2 separate regions of the Homo sapiens genome follow, and region 2 is linked to region 1. Evidence: promoter capture Hi-C in 16 types of primary human blood cells and fetal thymus (Javierre and others, 2016). All regions are on one chromosome and are shown on one strand. Each heading gives the region's core, a stretch centred on a gene start or on the middle of the fragment in contact. The rest is flanking DNA. Distances are from core to core; before and after follow the strand shown. Region 1 holds the start of ISM1 (isthmin 1). Region 2 overlaps TASP1 (taspase 1).

Evidence for each region. Contacts are between HindIII fragments. The CHiCAGO score rates a contact against its expected background, and 5 or more counts as called.
Region 2: a fragment that was not itself captured here is called in contact with the fragment with the promoter of ISM1 in region 1 in 2 of 17 cell types (naive CD4 T cells and naive CD8 T cells); the score reaches 8.7 in naive CD4 T cells.

What each region holds. Positions count from the first base shown.
Region 1 is chr20:13,219,768-13,222,922 of GRCh38, forward strand. ISM1 (isthmin 1) reads left to right here and starts at 1,507. Exons shown (of 6, transcript NM_080826.2): 1 at 1,507-2,147. The coding sequence starts at 2,010. It also overlaps a transcript of TASP1 not described here. RefSeq lists silencers at 1,290-1,409, 1,869-1,938. The HindIII fragment of the contact is 8,964 bases long and covers 1-3,155 here.
Region 2 is chr20:13,542,798-13,545,952 of GRCh38, forward strand. The region is part of intron 8 of TASP1 (taspase 1); the gene reads right to left. Among named protein-coding and RNA genes, the nearest start is that of TASP1, 95 kb to the right of the region's middle. The HindIII fragment of the contact is 3,963 bases long and covers 1-3,155 here.

The DNA of each region.
Region 1 (3,155 bases), core at 257-2,756:
CCTTAACTACCGCTATTTAAATTCTGCAAAGTACCGCGGTGACCGGAGGAACCTTCGCAAAGGCGCAAGGGTTTGCCTTAATTTGGTTAATACTTGGTTGAGATGCCTTGCGAGAACTCGAAAGCAGTTGAATTAAGAATCTTAAATCTTTCTAGGACGCGGAGAAGGAAGGTAGGAAATTGGGGAGGGGGAAAGGGAGGCGTGCCGTCAAGAAAGAGTTGATTATTTATTTAATTTCATTCACCAAGGGAGAATTCGGAGGCTCCATCCCGGAGGCACTGGGGTCCGGGACGCGGGAAAGGCTTGGAAATGTGCGACGCGGCTGTGTGCGAACGCGTGGACTAGGTCTTGGCTCGCTGGGAGGGAAGGGCTGGGCCGGCGCTGGGGAGGAGGAAGGGAGGGAACGGGTAGGAGGAGGGGAAGCGCAGTATAAAAGTCCCGGCCGGACTGAGCGTCCGCTACTCCGAGTCACTTCGGTAAGGCGGGAGCCCGAGCAAGGTCAAGGAGGGAAGTGCGCGGTGCCACGGACCGACACAGTTCGCTCTAGCATCTGACGCTCGGACTCCGCGCCCTCAGCCGGATCCCAGAGCCCTTCCATTCGCCAACCGCCCACTGCAAGGCATGAGCCGCACGCGGGAGCCCGAGGCTGCAGCGCGGTCATGAGGCGGTGGCCCGGGATCGACAGCTGCGCGACGCCAGCCCCCAAATCCCCTCTGGGCGCGGCACCCCCGGGATGAGCCCCCCACAGAGGCAAGCCCACTAGAGCTGAGATTCACTCCGAGTTCCTGAGCGCCTGAGCCGCGGGCACTGCGTCTCTGCAGCTTCCAGCCAACACCTGCGCCCGTGACCAGACGAACGCCTAGAGAGTCGGACTCCCCTCCCTTCCCAGGCTCTACGGGGCGCCGCGGATCCGCGAACAGCCGTGCCCGGCTAGCGGGCGGCCCAGCAAGTGTCAAGACCCTTCGGAACGACACTTTGGCACTCCTCCTCTCCCCCGACTGCTTCAGGCAGGGGTCGCAGGCAGACGCATGGCTTGTCCGGCGCCCCCTCCGTTTTCCATCACTGCAACTCCAGCTCCAGTTTGCCAATAAAGGTTTCTAAAGCAGCCCAGGCACCACCCCACCCACCCACAGCCCCGAGCCTCAGTGTGCACAAGGGCTCTACCCGCGCCCGTCACAGCGACCTCGGCAGCGGGCACTTGGTACAGCCCGGCAGGCTGACGCTGCCGCCGAGGGCGCCCCGGCTACCGCCAAACCGTGACAACCTCGGTGTGCCCGGGGCCCCCATCTGGAACCGGCCCTCCCCGGGACTCCGAGTGCGGGGCGGCGCGGCAGGCGGCCCCGAGGAGCGCGGAGAGTAGTGGAGGTGGCTTGCCGGGTGAGTGGCTCGGGGCGGCGAGGGCGGGGGCGCCAAGCGTGGAGGTAACTCCCGGCCGCAGCTGAAGCCCTCCTACTCCTCCTCCTCCTCCTCCTCCTCCTCCTCCTCCTCCTCCTCCTTCTCCTTCTCCTCCTCCTCCTCCCCGCGCTTCTCTGGCGGCCGCTCCCGCTCCAGCTGCGGCGCCGCGGCCACATCTGGGGCGCCCATGTGCGCTCGGGGGCTCGGCTGCGCCCGCCCCGCCGCCGACCCCGCAGCCCCCTGCCAGCAGGGTGGCCTCCGGCCCGGCCCGGGTCCCGGGCTGTCCCGGGACCCAGTCTCCGTCTCCGCCGCCGCCGCCGCCAGGCAGCGCCGGGGCTTGCTCCGCAGCCGGCTTGGACACCCCCGGCCTCGCGGTGGCTCCGCCGTGGTGCGGCGGCGGCGGCGGCGGCGGCGCCGGCAGCTCCTGCTCCCCCGGCCCCGCACACCCCGCCGCGCCCAGCGCCAGCCCCGCGGGCCCGGGAAGCGGAGCCCTGGCGGGAGCCGAGGCGGGAGCCGCGCTGCCGGGCTCCCGGGCTCCTACTCCTCCTCCCCCGGCGTCACCGCCGCCGCCGCCGGCCGCCGCGCCGGGTCCTAAAGCCGCGCGTCTCAAAAGGATGGTGCGCCTGGCGGCCGAGCTGCTGCTGCTGCTGGGGCTGCTGCTGCTCACGCTGCACATCACCGTGCTGCGCGGCTCGGGAGCCGCCGACGGGCCCGACGCGGCCGCGGGCAACGCCAGCCAAGCCCAGCTGCAGGTGAGTGCGCCGCCGGAGAGGGCCGTGCGCGGCTGCGGGGACGGTTTGTGGGGCGGGGGTGCTGAGCTAGTGCCGGGTGGATGCAGGGAGGCAGGTCCCCTGCCCCACCTAAGAGCAACTGTTTTGGCAGTAGTTTTGCCCGGGCCACTTGACTTAGGCAGAGGCGGAGCGGGGGCACGTGCCTGGAGGCTGCACCCGGCTTCCAGGTCTGCGGGCTGCGCTCCTTCAGTTCTGTCTGTCACGGGTCAGGTGCGGGGTTGGTGGGGAGGTGGGAAGGAGCGAGGTTTGGGATGAGCAGAGGAAGTGTGGAGAATGTGCTTGCTTGGGGGTGCTACCAGTCTTTCGTTGCCCTTCGGAGGCTGAGTAATGTTACTCGAGGCTGGAGGGACGCAAGGAGACTTTATAGGATGATATCCCTGAAGTCTTTGGGAGAAAGAACTCCGGGAGTCTACCCCTTTAGGAAGCAATGCCAAAGGTCAGGACATAATTTCCCAAGGAGAATAGCCAGGCATCCCCTCCTCACCCTCAGGGTTCCCTTGCTTCCAGTGTTCCTCTTCCTCCGGGAGCCTCGCCTGAGGTTCCCCCCTCCCCCCTTGTGCCCCCTTGGTCATGGGGAAGGTGCAGAGTGAAGGCACCGGTAGTGATTTGGGCCAGGGTTACCTGGGGCTTTTAAACTTGTAGCAAAGTCTTTCTCCCAAGGATCTTCCCCGTTGAAGGTCGCTTTAGCAATGGGATTCTGTTTATCCATTTCAACTTCAGGGCAAGGAGAGGGCGTAGTGGACGGTCAGACATAATGTGAGTTCTGACTTAGGAATAGAATTGCCCAGCTAGGCATTTCCTGCCGCTATGTTAGCGCCTTTCCTTGAGTCTAGGGGTGGGACAACTGTAAACTTGGAGCATAGGCAAAAGCAAGCAGGGATTTTCCCAGGAGGCAGAGGGGATTCTCTGGCTCCTAAAATCTGCTCAAACCAGGCGCGGTGGCTCACGCCTGTGATCCCAGCACTTTAG
Region 2 (3,155 bases), core at 442-2,941, 320 kb after region 1:
TTCAAAACTTGTGGGATACAGTAAAAGTAGTACTAAGAGGGAAATTTATGTCCAAAATTTTAACATCAGAAAAGAAGAAAAAATTAATAAGCTAACTATCCAACAAAAGAAATTAGAAAGAGAACAAGACAAACACAAAGAAAAAGGGGGAAAAAAACCAAAGAAAAAATGAAAAATCAATGAAGGAGATAGATATAAACTTTAAATAAAGAGACCAAAAAAGGCAAAGTTGGTTCTGTGAGAAAATACTTGAATGAATTCAATCTGATTGGCAATCACTTTCTCTGTGTATCACCTAAATCTCAGCAAAAGCCCATCCCTCCAGCCTTGTCCTCCAACACTAGCCTCATCTCTCTCAAGTAATAACAGACGCTAGCATCTCTGCCTCACTTGTACTTCATACAGTGCAAATGTCACTTTCCACCCCTACCCTCATCCCCACCCCACCCACACCACACATTAAAGTACTACATATCTTCAAGTGATGCAGGCTCAAATAATTCCAGAAAAAGATTTCTTGGCCACGCACAGTGGCTCACGCCTGTAATCCCTACACTTTGGGAGGCCAAGGCAGGCAGATTACTTGAGGTCAGGAGTTCAAGATCAGTCTGGCCAACATGGAGAAACCCCATCTCTACTAAAAATATTTTAAAAAATAGCCAGGCACAATGGCATGCACCTGTAGCCCAGCTACTCAGAAGGCTGAGGCAAGAGAATAGCCTGAACCTTGGAGGTGGAGGCTAGAGTGAGCCGAGATTGCGCCACTGCACTCCAGCCTGGGTGACCCAGCGAGACTCCATCTCAAAAACAAAGATTTCTTGAATCACTTCCCGACCAAACAGGAGGCCCTTGCGCCTTTCAACCTCTAATACACACATTTCTCCACAATACAAGAAGACCATAGGCTGGCTTGTTACAGGATCTTTATTGGCTTATCTTGCCCCTCATGCATCTATAAGCAACAAAGTATCATAAAATTAATATTCTTTAATTGAATCTCATCAATAACTCAAACTTTGTTCCTTCTGAAACTGCATCTTGCTCAATTTGGACATGTGATCCAAACTCAGCTTATCTAAAGCAGTTTTCTATTACCTAACATTTCTGATTATTTCATATTTAGATCTTCCCTAATGTACCATTTTGCACATCACTCTTAAATGAGTTTGTTCCCAAAAGCACATCCTTTAACAACTGCCGTGAAATATTTGGCTGGTCCCCATAATAACCAAACCAAAATCCACACCCATTTCTCGTAATATGGGAGTAATCCTTATTTCTGGAAGTTTTGCGTGCCCTTTAGTCTATTGTTCAAAACAAACTTCTAAGACTAAAACCATCGAACATTAAGCCTCTCACTTTATCTGTAAAAAAATTGTATTTCTTGATATTGGTCCCATATTGCTATATTCAGTGTTTCCTTTTTGAAAAAATTCTTTACTGCCCTCCCATCCTATGAGGTCATTTGGTACTGGATCACACTTTTCTCATTTTTTACTAATTCAGTTCTATTTTACTCCAAAGTTTCTTGATTTCCTAAAAGTGAGAACAAGCAATGCCCATACTACACTTTAGCTCTAACTTTGTTTTTCCCACTGGAGAGCTGGTCATCCTTCACTGTAATCAGTCACCACTGTCTGGGAAATATATTCAAGAGAGAAGAAGAGAACCAAGATCATTTGGTAGTTTTACTTCATAGAGGCATGTGTATCATAGTATTAATACTTCAAAGACAGAAACAACACAACATGCTACTAACATACCGACTAATAGGATATGAATTCATTACTGGGCAGATTTAAAAATACAAAGCTAGACAAGCTAAGACCTTGCTAATTATTAATAAATAGCAAAGAAATCTCCTTTATAAATGCAGGCAACCTTTTCCAATTTAGTTGTCCAATTTGGCTCTTTCCAAAAACACCTAGCTATGGTCTGGACCTCTGGTCTTTCTTTCATTTTAGGGCACATATTTATCTTCTCTGGATAAAATTACACTTTCTCTTTTAAATACGAGAGCTCTGCCAGCCTTTAAACTGAGTCTTATAGCAGTGGGGAGTAACAGATAAAGGACTGGAAGGTAACATGGACAATCTGGATTCTATTCCTGTCAATGAAACACCATAACAGTTGGGATGGGCCACTTAACTTGGATTTAAATTCAACCCTTTCCAGACTGTAGAAAAATATTTAATGTTGACTTAATACAGTAATAAGTTACCTTATTTAACATGAGATTTTTTAAGTACAGCGTATCTATGCATATCACCAAATGGCCATATAATTATGAATATACCCACAAAAATAGAAACTGTTATTCAAAATCATAAATACATGACGATTAAAGATAAGCATATTGAAAAGCAAAAAGAAAGAAATAGTACCTATATACTCTTTATCCTTTCGTTCCTCAATAGATCTTATTAGAAAGTAAAGAACTGAGAGAGTAGGAAAGGAGTTAAGTATATTCTAGGATATAAAATATAACCTAAATTATGATAGTGCCATATCCTAGAAAATCGAATGTCATTCAAATTAATCTCAGTGATGTTTTCAGAGACTCTAAATACCCAAAGCCTGTGTTTAGTTCAAATAGCCACAAGGATGGGCCATTCATACATATTTCAAAATATTCCCCTCATTTGGTCAGAAGTACGATAATACAAATAAAAGTAGCATGATATTCAGGGGGACTCTAGCTATGGTCATAATTCCTCTATGGCCTATTTTACTTTGCTAAATTCTGCAGACAGTTTAACTTTATCAACTGACATTCCCCCACCAGGAATTACAAGCTGCAAAAACCAGCGTTTGGTTTGACCAGCAAAGTGTAGTTTGGTGTTACACATTTTTTTTTAAAATATCTTACAATGGAACACACATGGCCAGTCAGCCCCACTCTCTTCTACTTGTCTACCTCTCTAGACCTGTCTCACACATTTAGGCTGCCTACCTGCCTGGCACCCCTGGCTTCTGAGTTTGAAACCACTGTCCTGCAGAAAACCTACGGTGCAACCAAACTCATCCATTTGCAGGCCTCTGAACCCAGGACTTTTATCTTTCTTTCTACCCAGACATATAAGTCTGACCCTTTATCCAACATCCAGCTTAAATTCCTCCAATTCCATTAAGACTGCCATGTGAAACTTAGCAGA